Regions from separate parts of the Homo sapiens genome. Here regions 1, 3 and 4 are each linked to region 2. Evidence: promoter capture Hi-C in human tissues and cell types (Jung and others, 2019). All regions are on one chromosome and are shown on one strand. Each heading gives the region's core, a stretch centred on a gene start or on the middle of the fragment in contact. The rest is flanking DNA. Distances are from core to core; before and after follow the strand shown. Region 1 overlaps NAV1 (neuron navigator 1). Region 2 holds the start of LMOD1 (leiomodin 1). Region 3 overlaps NAV1 (neuron navigator 1). Region 4 holds the start of PHLDA3 (pleckstrin homology like domain family A member 3).

Region 1 (2,778 bases), core at 238-2,737, 370 kb before region 2:
TAATACGCCTTCAGGCCAGGGTAGAAGATATATATTGAGCACCTTCCATGTTTGTTCCAGGTACTGCCAGGCTCCAGGCACTGGGGAATGCAGTCCCTGCTGTCAGGGAGTTTGTCACACAGCTGGGAAACCAGTCCCCCACCATGATGAGATCACAGACAAAGGGGACCACAGAGTGAGCACTCTGGGGCTGTCCCTAGGTCTCTGGCTATGGGTGCCCAGCAGAACTGCAAGGGCCCCTTCAATTATCCACAGTCAAGAACTGGAAGCCTGGCTAGGCGTTCTGTTTTGCCTAGAATTGCTTATTATGACCTTTTTTTCTTTTGCAGCAAATTTCCCTTCCTAATTTGGTTCTGTTTATCCCATTATTAAAGTGGGATTACATAGGAATTTAACTGAAGTAAATGATCATCAATGTGTACAAAGATCTAGCTGCAAGAATGTTCTTGGCAAAATTGTTTATCACAGGGGAAGGGCACAAACAATTTGAGTGGGTAAAAGTACCACATATGTTAATGATACTCTGGTATAACCATCTATTAATAGCGGAAAGGGGAATACCTAATGTGCCTAATGCACCCATAAGGAATTATTAACACTTCACTCACTCAGTCATTCACTCATCTGATCGCTCATTCCACTCACAGTCACTGAGCACCTTCCAGACAAAAGGTCCTATATGAGAGAGTGTTTTACTCAGGTTCCTCAGAGATGAGGATGTGATCACAGATTAAGGGAGAAGTTATGGGATTCATCATGGGATAGCGAGGAAACTGGGCAGCGGGGTTTTTGGTCCTCCAGGCTGAGGCATGTGACAAGCATGGTGGGCTTCTGCAGGGGCCACAGCATCTCCAGGCTACAGAACCCTGGATCCTAAGCTGGCTTCCATAGTTCCCTGAGAGCAGCATTGTGTGGTAGGCCAAGTTCAAGATTTGGAGTCAGGAGACTTGGATTCTAATTTCTTTTCTTTCTTTCTTTCTTTTTTTTTTTTTTTTGAGACAGAGTCTTGCTCTGTCACCCAGGCTGGAGTGCAGTGGTGCAATCTTGGCTCACTGCAACCTCCACCTCCCCGGTTCAAGCAATTCTTCTGCCTCAGCCTCCCGAGTAGCTGGGACTACAGGCACGCACCACCATGCCCGGCTAATTTTTGTATTTTTAGGAGAGACGGGGGTTTCACCATATTGGCCAGGCTGGTCTCAAACTCCTGACCTCATGATCCACCCGCCTCAGCCTCCCAAAGTGCTGGGATTACAGGCGTGAGCCACCGCGCCTGGCCAGATTCTAATTTCTTTTAGCCTTTATCACCATCAATGAAATGGGGATAGGAATGACTGTCTTATACCTTACCAGCAAGTCATCACAAGACTCAAAGGAGGCAGCTAAGTGGCCTGCTCTAAACTGTGCAGGTGTTGACAACAGAGATTAATCCTCATTGCTCAAGTAGATGCCCTGGGGTAGGGGGTGGTTTCCAGCTGTGCTCTTCTTGGGAATTACTTTTCTTTCTGTCCCCATAGCCATCTCCTCCCATGCTGTCCAACCCTGCTCCTTCCTACTCCATCTTGCCCCTGCCCATCTCACCTTCTAGAAGCCTGAGCCCAGCAGCCCAAGGTCAGCTCCATCTGAAACTAGTGTCATCACTGGAAAGGTTGCATGGAAGAGCCCTCCTTCAAAAGTAAATAATCAAACTTTGTTTAAAGGCCTGACAATGTTCATTTGTGTTGATCAAGCTCAGACTGAATTATGCATAGGCACATGGCCTGTGCCTGAGGAATTTACCATGTAGGCCAGACACCCTGACTGATTCAAAGGATGTACAGACAGCAGGACATCAAGTCGAGGCAGGCCACAGGGAGCTGACCCTGGAGTGCTGATTTCACAGAACGTGGCTGCTAAGTCCAGATAATGTTTCATCTCCTGATATGTGTGTGTGTATGCGTGTGTGTGTGTGTGCACACCTGTACCGTATTCACACTTTTTCAAGGGGAAAGAAGAAAGGAAGGAAGGAAGGGAGGGGAATAAAAACAAATCTTTTTGAAGTGGAGCCATGTGACCCCAGGTAAACCCTCAGGGAGCCCCTGCCCTGCCCTGCCTCTGCACCAGTTCTTCCTGACAGAGAGCTTTGTCCCCTCCCCTACATGTCTGTCACACACCCCCTCCCTGCCTCCTGTTTTGCAGTCAGGACCCTCCATCATGACAGAGGGAGGCCCAAATTGTCTTCTGCTCCAGGCCTGCCTGCTGTACCTATCTCCCAGGGATCTTGTGATGATTAAGAGAGCTAATACATGAAAAATATATAAAATGGTGCCAGGTACCTAGTAAACACTCAACAAATATTATCTATTACTAATTGGTTTGGGGTCATGGACCCTTTTTGGGAATCTGATGAAAGCTGTGGGCATTGTGTCCAAAAAATGCATTACATTCAGCTCAGCGGGTGCCTGGACCCCAAGTTAAGAATGCCTAGTCCCAACCTGGGCAACATAGAAAGGTCCCATCTCTAAAACAATTTTAAAAATTAGCCAGGCACGGTGGCACGTGCCTGTAGTCCCAGCTACTTGGGAGGTTGAGGTGGGAGGATCGCTTGAGCCCACGAGTTTGAGGCTACAGTGAGCTATGATAGTGGCGGCACTGCACTCTAGCCTGGACATCAGAGTGCAGCCCTGTCTCTAAGAAAAAAAAAAAAGAACGAGTCTAAATAAACTGAAGAGTTCTATTTATAAGCATTTACTGAGCACTCTTCAGTGTAGAGGACTGGGCTGGGTACAAGGGAGAAAACAA
Region 2 (2,729 bases), core at 184-2,683:
CAACACTCTTTCCCATGGACAAAGGTATCCCACAAAGTCATACTTCATCGGAGGCTAGTTTGTCCAAAGAAAACTCACATACCAATGCAATAGTGACAAAAAAAAAATTCCTCCATGCCAACTCAGGAAAACAGAAAGCAAGTTGTGCTTAAGCCCATTGTAGGTGTGGGCAGATGCTTCCAAAACCGTCACCCCTTTTCCCTCCTCTATGACTATCTTCAACCCCCAGCAAAGCGGCCTCGCCAGCTGCTAAAGGGTTAATTACCAAAAAGAGGGCATGCTCCCTCCAGAGGCTCCTCTGGAGAGTGCAAAAACAAAACAAAACCAAAAACCAACTAACCACAACAAAAAACATCTTCCCTGGGAATAAATTTGAAGCTTATCAGGTCTTTAAGCCACATTTCCCAGCCCATAGACTCCTGGTCCCTGTCTCCCTTTGCTTTGGGAAACTCATTTACCCCCAAGCCTCCTGAAATGATCCATGTGCCGTGAGATGCCCATAGGGTTGGGGACTTGAAAATGAGTTATTCTCCCACAAAAAATGGCTTAGCTTTGTCTTTTTGGGTGGCTGACAGGAGACATAAAGTATCACTCTCTCTTTTTACCCCTCCTCACAATAGGATGGAATGAGTGTGGAGAAAAACAAAGGTATTGTGGGACCAGGATGGAGTCAACTTGACAATGGACTCTTCAAGGACACCTTCCAGCTCCCATTCTACTAGTAGCTCTATTTGATTTTGTGGGATGTTGTGTTCCTCCAACATATCCGACTTCTGCTTATAAAACAGAAATTAGGAGTAAGAGATTCGCACCGCTAGTTCAGTGGATAATCATCAGTTCTGAAGCATTAAAATCCTTTGCCAACAAGAACGTTTCTTCTAAGGAAGGAAGCATCCTAATCATGAAGCCAGGGTCTCCAGCCCTCCCCTGTCTCCCTCCTCCCCTCCAGGGCTGTGCTCACTCACATCCATGGACATCTCCCTCTGCATAAGTTTCTTGGTCTCCTTTTCACAGAAGTTGAGCATGGCCTCCCGGTTGTACACACCCGTGGACTGTTTCTCCGTCTGGTTTCTCTGCCGCAGCCCCACGGGAACACTCCCGTCTGGGTCCACCACGTCCAGCTCCTTCTCCAGCTCCTCCATCTCCTCGGGAGACAGGGTCTCCAGCAGGCTGTCGATGTCGGGGTCTTCACTCACCTGCCGGCGATATTTGGCTACTCTAGACATCTTGGCAAAATGGGCTGTGGCTGCCAGGGGCTATCAGAGTCCTGGTGGGCAGGGAAGGGAGAGGGGTGAGCTGATCTGGATGCAGCGAGTGGGCTGAGGAGCAAACCTCCTGCTGGTCGAGGACTGCAGCTCCTTGGCCCTTCTGTGCTACAGGTGCTGAAGTGTTCACTGGACGCAGCAGCCTCCCTGAAGCCCAGGGCTAGTGGACCCCGGCTGGTCTAATCAGCGGCCAATAAGACCCGACAACTGCCAGGCCCGGAGAGGAGAAGCCAATCCCCAAGCTGGGGGCGGGCCTACCTCGCTGTCAGAGCTGTTTGAAACTTGAGGACATTCCAGGGAATCTTGGAGCGCTGCGTGACCAAATTTAGTACAGAGCAGTTTAGCCTTTTAAAGACAAGGGGCCACGCAATGAGAAAAAGATACAAAAATGCGTAGGCTGGCAGAAGCAGATCACAGCCACGGAGAGCCAGACAAGCAGGGACGAGGCCATGAGGGCCGGTGAACTCGCCAGCCCGGGGCACGTTCAAGAGCGTATTTTACTACTCCATCACCGGGTGGACGTATCACTGTGGTCAATGTGTGGTTCATGGACTTCCTTCTACAGTATTTGGTAATGTGCTGGGGGGCTCCCAGGTGTATACAGCTCCAGGAAAGTCTAGATTCAAGATGAGGAGCTGTTACTCCTAACCCCCTGCCTACCCATTTTCTTTCTACCCAGGTTCTGCCAAGGAGGACCTGAAGGCTGAGCATCAGAGGCTCCAGGATCCTTTGGCCACTTCTTAAGAGAGAGACAGGAGACAGAAAGACAAACTTAGAGATAGAGATAGCTAGGCAGGAGAGGGAGAGAGAGAGAGAGAGAGAGAGAGAGAGAGAGAGAGAGAGAGAATAAATCCTTACTGTGTACCAAAACTGAAAACTGGCAGGCTGTTTGGGAAAGAGAGAAGGATCTGCAGAAGTCGGGAAACTCTTAAAGGGCTGTCACTTTCCATGAAGTTCCAAGGCTCTTGGGAAGAGGGTTCAAACCTCCCCCTGTTGTCATCTGTTTCTTCCTCTGCCGGGCATCTGTAGACAGACCTCCTTTGGGAGCACAGAGGCAGGTCACCACCCACATATAAATCCAGAGCACGATTTAGTATGTCTTCAGGGAAACAGAATTCTGGGCCGTCGGGAGAGATACGATTGCAACAGGTCTGGCATGTTTCATAGAAGGGCTTTCCACTGCTCATCCATCATGCTGCCCTGCACAAGTCACAGAGACATTCAATCCCCTGCCCCCCTTCCTCCTGCCACAAAATCCCTTCTAGAAGCCCTGGTGTAACCCATCAGGGTAGATGCTTCGATCTTTCCTGGCATCTTTCCATCCTAAGCCAGAGAGAGACAGTCACTTGATCAGCATTTGCTGAGTCCAGGGATCGTCTGGGACTAAAACTTGGCCGTGCCATTTAATGTCCACTAGTCCAACTTTAGGTTAAGGCTGAAGAGGGGAATGGTGTCCACTGGGGG
Region 3 (2,700 bases), core at 168-2,667, 350 kb before region 2:
CTAAGGCACCCAGCATTTCTCAGGATTCACACACATTGGCCTTGGCCAAATACCCCCCTACACTCTCCTTCTTCCCCTCCGGCCTCACTCTGAAGACAGCTAAGCTGTCTTCCTGGGGGCTTCCTGGTCAAGGCTCACTGTGCAAACTACAGACTATCACATAATCTCCTAACATGCCCCTGGGGCCCGCTGGTTAAAGCCTGAGAAGAGGATCTGCAAAGATCCCTTCCCACAGGCTGCAGAGCCCGTGCTCCACCGGGCTGAGGGCCAAGCTGGGAGTCCATAAGGACCCCTTCCCACAGGCTGCAGAGCCCCTGCTCCACCAGGCTGAGGGCCAAGCTGGGAGGACCTGAGGCACAGGAGCCGGGTTTCCTCCCTCACACTCCTGCGGAAGCTCAGCCCCCATGCTCCACCTGCTTCCTGTTCCGCGGGGAAGATTTCCTGGTCTGTTTCCTTGGCAGCTGTGTCTCATTTCCTCCTGCTGTGCCCGTGATGTCCTGGCCCAGTGTGACGAGGTGAGGCAGGCCCCTCCCCTGTGAGGTGTGCCATCTCCTGCCCAACTCCATTGCCCCAGATTCCAGAGAGCAGAGTCGGGGAAGTAGGCCCCACCCACCTTGGCCAGGGAGCAAGGGGAGGGAGTTCAGCTGCAGGATGCCTGGGCGTCAAGATGTCGTCAATGCCTCCAATATATACTGAGTGTCTACTACGTGCCAGGCATGATACCAGGCGCCAGGTGGCCAAAGCTAAGTGTTCTTCAAGAAGGCAGCTTTGGAGATGAGCCAGGTATACCTGGTGACTGAGCAGCCAACGCTATGTACACAGTGCTCTGGCAGCTCAGGGCCACTTACAGAAGGTCAGAGAGGCCTTCCTGGAAGGGATGACGTCTGAGCTGAGCTTGGAGGATGAATAGAAATTAGCTAAGGATAAGCTTGAAACCTCGTGGTGTGTGGATAAATGATAAACTATTCAGTAAAACTTGAAGATAAAGAATGAGGCAGGGCAGAGAGATGAGTCTGGGAAATAGGGAGGAATCAAGTGCTGGAGGATCTTAGAGGACCCCCAAGAAACTTGATTTTACCCCGTAGGAGGGTCGTTATCAGAACCACAATTCGATCAGGTCTTTTTGGCCTCAGGGTGGAAATGGTGTGAGTGGGCCATGCGGCGTGGGGCCGGGAGAACAAAGTGTGTGTCCTGGTGAGGAATCGGAACTGCCTGAGTTAGGGTGGTAAGACCAGAGAGCAAGGGCCAAGAAAACTGGCAGGACCACAGGACCAACTGGATGTGCTTCGCCTGGAATAGGAGCAGGGGGTGGAGCTGTGACCTTGGACAATCTCTCACACTCTCCAAACCTCAAGTTCATCATCTGTCAATTGCCTTCCCCCGACTAGAAGGAGCTGAGCTAATGGATGCAGTAAAAGCAGTGGGTGAGGGCAGTCATCGTGTTGCCATTTTAAAAAGGCTGTGAAACTACAAGCTGGTAGGGTCCCGGCCATGAGGAACCCGAGTCTTCAGTTTGGGGACAGAAGTAAGTGGGAGGGGGGTGTTATTGTTTTCTGTGGCTTACCCTGGAGCTGATAGGCTATACAGAGGCCATGACATCCCTCCCCCTGCCTCTGGACAGATGATCATTATCAGGTGGGGCATTGGCATCAGGAAGGAGCTGCCTGTCATTCAGAAAACATTTCTGGAGCCTCTAGTGGGGACAGGACTTTTGTTGGCCCCACTTAGCATATGGGGAGGCATAAGGCCAGATCTCTGCCTGCTGACAGTCACCCACCCTGACAGCCTCCCCACTTGGGCTTAGCTGGCCAGGTTGGGCCCCCCAGGAGGCAAAACCCTGCAAGGAGAACCCTCTGGGACAATGAGGTCACACTCTCTTTGGATCACGTGATTCAAGGTTCCCAGCTCCTCCTCATGTCATTTTCTTGTATCCAACCCCAATCTTTATGGCTAGAGGAGGACTTCCTTTTGCAGGGCCTGTTTTCAGTGGGAACAGAGAACAAAGGCATTATATCTGCAAGGTCCATGAGCCAGCCTCCCTTTGACCTTCACTCTGGAATCAGCCACCCTAGTCCATTAACCTCTCCTTGGACGGCCCCTTCCATCCCTTTTTCCCAGATGCAATTCCAGTTCCCTGTGCGCCTTGTAAGCACAGAGCACAAAATGAATTTGTTAAGGGTTTCATGAGGTCCTGACCCACAGGTGGTACAGAAGAATGGATTCTCTGGCAGTTCAGAGTCTGTGGCAGGCAGCCAGCGAAATCCAGGACTTAGGGCCCACTTCGATGCTCAAGTCATGGGAGCTTCTCTCCATGAATTTTGCGTCTGTCATGAGCCCCTCTTACTAGGAGGGGGAACCATCAGGCAGGCTTCCGAGCGCCTGCTCTGATTCTCTTCAGCGCCACTCACGCAATTGCTATAAAAGAGACCAGGCTCAGGGACAGGGGGAGGGAGGGATGGCGTCTGTGTCATAAACAAGGAGAGATATTTAGTGGTTTTTAAGCACCATAGGCATCTCCAGGGAGAGTTTGAGGGGGAAAAAACAACACTTTATTTGGAAACAATTCTGCTGAGATACAATCTTGTCTCAGCTTCACTTTCTCTGCTATTTATTATGAAGTGCTATGTGCTCAAAAATAGGGGCTGAGTTTTAAAGTCACAGGCCAAGCTCTGGGCTCTGAACCGAGGAGACAGCTTGGGC
Region 4 (2,813 bases), core at 200-2,699, 480 kb before region 2:
GGCCCCACCTTCCACTGAGGCCCCACCTTGGGAGCCGGACTCCTTGGCTCTATTTGCAACCCTTGATGGTGCCTTCGCCATCTGGGAGATACTGTCTTTCTACATCAATTCAATGCTCAAACTTTATGACAAGCATTCAACCTAGAGGGAAAGAGGGTCGGCCTCCACGATCCGCGTCCCCACCCTCGGTTGTCCTCAGCTGCCAGAAAGCCGAAGTCCAGGAGCCCTGCTCTGCGTGGAAAGCAGAGGCCCACAGCCTGGGGCAATGTGCAGGCCAACCTCCCTCTACTTCCTTCCACCTGAGTCAGGGCTGAACCAACTTGAAAGAAGGCTCATCTCACCCAGGTATCCCCCTCCCAGGGCTTCCATCTTCCTCTCACACACCTGGATCACATTCTGGACCGGCCAACCTGGTGCCTCAGGGGAAAGTCCGGATCTGCTGGGTTGGCCACTGGCCCAAGCCTCCCATGCCCTCAGTTGGCCCCAGGAACCTCCCCCCTAAGATGTCCGGCTCTGAAGTAGAATGCTAGTCCTCATTCTCTCTGTAGGGGAAAGAGAAGGGAGGGAAGGAGAGAAGAGGGCCCAGTCCCCCGGGGGCTTACCTGCCTTGACCTCAGCACTGAGGTGGTGGGTAGCATGAAGGAAAGATGGTGCGCCCGGTGGTTTAGGACACGAGGGTCCCGGTCCCGAGGCTCTGCCGGGCCCGCACTGTCTGGATGGCCTGCTGGTTCTTGAACTTGACCAGGCCTAGGGTGATCTGGGCGTTCCAGCCGGGATCTTCCAGGGGGCAGCGGAAGTCGATCTCGCCGCCCCCTTCGGTCACCAGCGTGAAGTAGATGTGGCGCCCGGTGCTCTCCACGCACTCCACGGCCTTGATGCGGGCGAAGCTGAGCTCCTTGGGCCGGCCGCCCGTGCCCTTGGCCTCGAAGAGCTGCAGCCCGCGTTCGGTGAGGACGCAGCGCTTCCGCTTCCACAGCTGCAGCAGCCCGCCGCTGCGCTTCTCCAGCACGCCCTCCTTGAGCACGGTAGCCGTCGCCGCCGCCGTCATGGGCGCCCCGAGGTTCGCGGAAAGCTCCAGGCTGCGGCGGGCGCGGCGCCCCTCTCGGCCCCGCAGCGCAGGATTCTGGCGCCCCGGGCTGGCAGGCCGTGCGCGCTGCCCACCTGCGCCCTGACTGCTCCGCGCACCCACACCGCGGCCCTCAGCACCCGGCTGCCGGTGAGGTGGTGTCGGTGCCCCCAGCGCGCTCCGCGCCCACCGCCCCGCTTCAGCCGGCACCCGCTCCTCCGCTCTACCCCAGCTGGCCCAGCCCGACCCGCCTCTGCCAGATGCCTCCGCGCCTCCCTAGGCCGTGAGCCCCACCGCCCGCCCGTTCTCTTGCTCCCCTGGGCTCTGTCTGCGCGCTGGGCGGCAGCTCGCGGGATGTGCCCTTACATGTTCCGCCGCTCGCCTCCTGCGCCGCCCGCCCGCAGCGCATTCCTACCCTGGCCGGCCCTCCCCTCCGCGCCGCGCACCAGCTCCGGCAGGGCCCCGGGGGCGGGGCCGCAGCGGGGGCTCAGTCACTCACTGGAGGCGCAGGGCGCGGGGCGGGGAGGGCCGGGACTGAGAGGGGGCTGCTTACTCAACAGCCCAAGCCTTCTGGCTGCCGTCTGCCGCTTCTCGGAACCGCAGCTCCCCCAGGCCTTGAATGAAGGGGGAGATGGCGGGGAAGGGAGGGGGAAGGCGCATCTCCTCGATTGGAGAGCGCGCTGCTAGCAAGGGGGTGGGCTTGCTTGGCGAACGCGCAGTGGCACCAGTTGCATGTTAGGCGTCAGACAGCTGCTGGTTACTTGGCACGCCATGGGGCCCCCAGCCTCTGCATCAAGCCCATGTTGGGTTCCTCCTCCATCGCCCGATTTCTCTGTGCAGCACCCAAGAGAGGCTGTCCATCGCTGCCTCTGCTTGGACAGTTCACCTGCTCCTACTCCTACCCCCATGCATTGCGCGGGGAGGCCTGTAGAGAGTAGCCAGTGCCAACAAAGGAGAGCTGAGGCTTGAGGTCATTCATGCCCTCCTCGTAGTGGGGGAGGAGGGACCCCCTCCGTGACCTGGGGATGCCACTGTCTGCAGTCCTCTCCACCGCACACTTGCAGGCGCCGACGCTGGACCGATGGCACAGCCAGTCCCAGGTGTAAGCGCAGCTCCAACCTTGCTCCTTCCGCTCCGCAGATTCTGTCCTCCCTCGGCCTTCCCCAAGAATGGACTTCTCCCGCATACAGAGCTGGAGGGGAACGCAGAGGGAGAGGTCTCTTTCTGTTCTGGCTAGAATATTGTGTAAACACAAGAGCTTTGCAGAGTTGAGTTCAAACCTCTTCTCCCTTGTTGGCTGTGTCCTGCCCACCTGGGGCAACTTTACTGACCTCCGTCAATTTCCTCATCTGTCGAATAGGAGGATTAATTTATTCTCATCTCATGGGGTTGTCCTGATGAATAAGTTGGATAACATTTGTGAAAGACCCAAGACAGGACCTGACAACTCTTGAGTCTCAAGAAATGTTCTTCCTCCCCTCTCCCCACTCTTATTCCCTTTAGAGAATGATGGGGGCCCTGAGATTAAGCCAGGCACTGGAAGAGGGCTCTCTTAGGTCCTCATTCTGTCCCCATCTTGATCAGTTCCTCCAGGCCCACAGTTTCTTAAAGGTCTATTCATCAACATGTTAATAATAGATTCTTACGGGAGTAATGATATATAATAATGACAGTAATAAGACCTCTTTGTACTTACACCCTGTGTTGCCATCCTCCTGCCCAAAGAGCAGAGCCTAACAGATACAGG

The links. The method cuts DNA at HindIII sites, captures the fragments that hold promoters and counts their contacts. A contact is called where the count stands out against the background at its distance.
Region 1: a fragment that was not itself captured here is called in contact with the fragment with the promoter of LMOD1 in region 2 in 1 of the 25 tissues and cell types used here (liver).
Region 3: a fragment that was not itself captured here is called in contact with the fragment with the promoter of LMOD1 in region 2 in 1 of the 25 tissues and cell types used here (small bowel).
Region 4: a contact is called between the fragment with the promoter of PHLDA3 here and the fragment with the promoter of LMOD1 in region 2, in 1 of the 25 tissues and cell types used here (IMR-90 fibroblasts).

What each region holds. Positions count from the first base shown.
Region 1 is chr1:201,571,392-201,574,169 of GRCh38, forward strand. All of the region lies in intron 1 of NAV1 (neuron navigator 1), which reads left to right. Among named protein-coding and RNA genes, the nearest start is that of NAV1, 34 kb to the left of the region's middle. The HindIII fragment of the contact is 8,445 bases long and covers 1-2,778 here.
Region 2 is chr1:201,945,115-201,947,843 of GRCh38, forward strand. LMOD1 (leiomodin 1) reads right to left here and starts at 1,434. Exons shown (of 3, transcript NM_012134.3): 1 at 966-1,434. The coding sequence starts at 1,226. The HindIII fragment of the contact is 9,839 bases long and covers 1-2,729 here.
Region 3 is chr1:201,597,320-201,600,019 of GRCh38, forward strand. The region is part of intron 2 of NAV1 (neuron navigator 1); the gene reads left to right. It overlaps LOC124904482 (a long non-coding RNA gene), which reads right to left. Exons shown (of 2, transcript XR_007066789.1): 2 at 2,527-2,700. Among named protein-coding and RNA genes, the nearest start is that of NAV1, 60 kb to the left of the region's middle. The HindIII fragment of the contact is 8,971 bases long and covers 1-2,700 here.
Region 4 is chr1:201,467,739-201,470,551 of GRCh38, forward strand. PHLDA3 (pleckstrin homology like domain family A member 3) reads right to left here and starts at 1,450. Exons shown (of 2, transcript NM_012396.5): 1 at 603-1,450. The coding sequence starts at 1,048. The coding sequence ends at 665. RefSeq lists enhancers at 630-689, 760-899, 1,121-1,835, 1,350-1,469 and silencers at 970-1,279, 1,490-1,719. The HindIII fragment of the contact is 18,719 bases long and covers 1-2,813 here.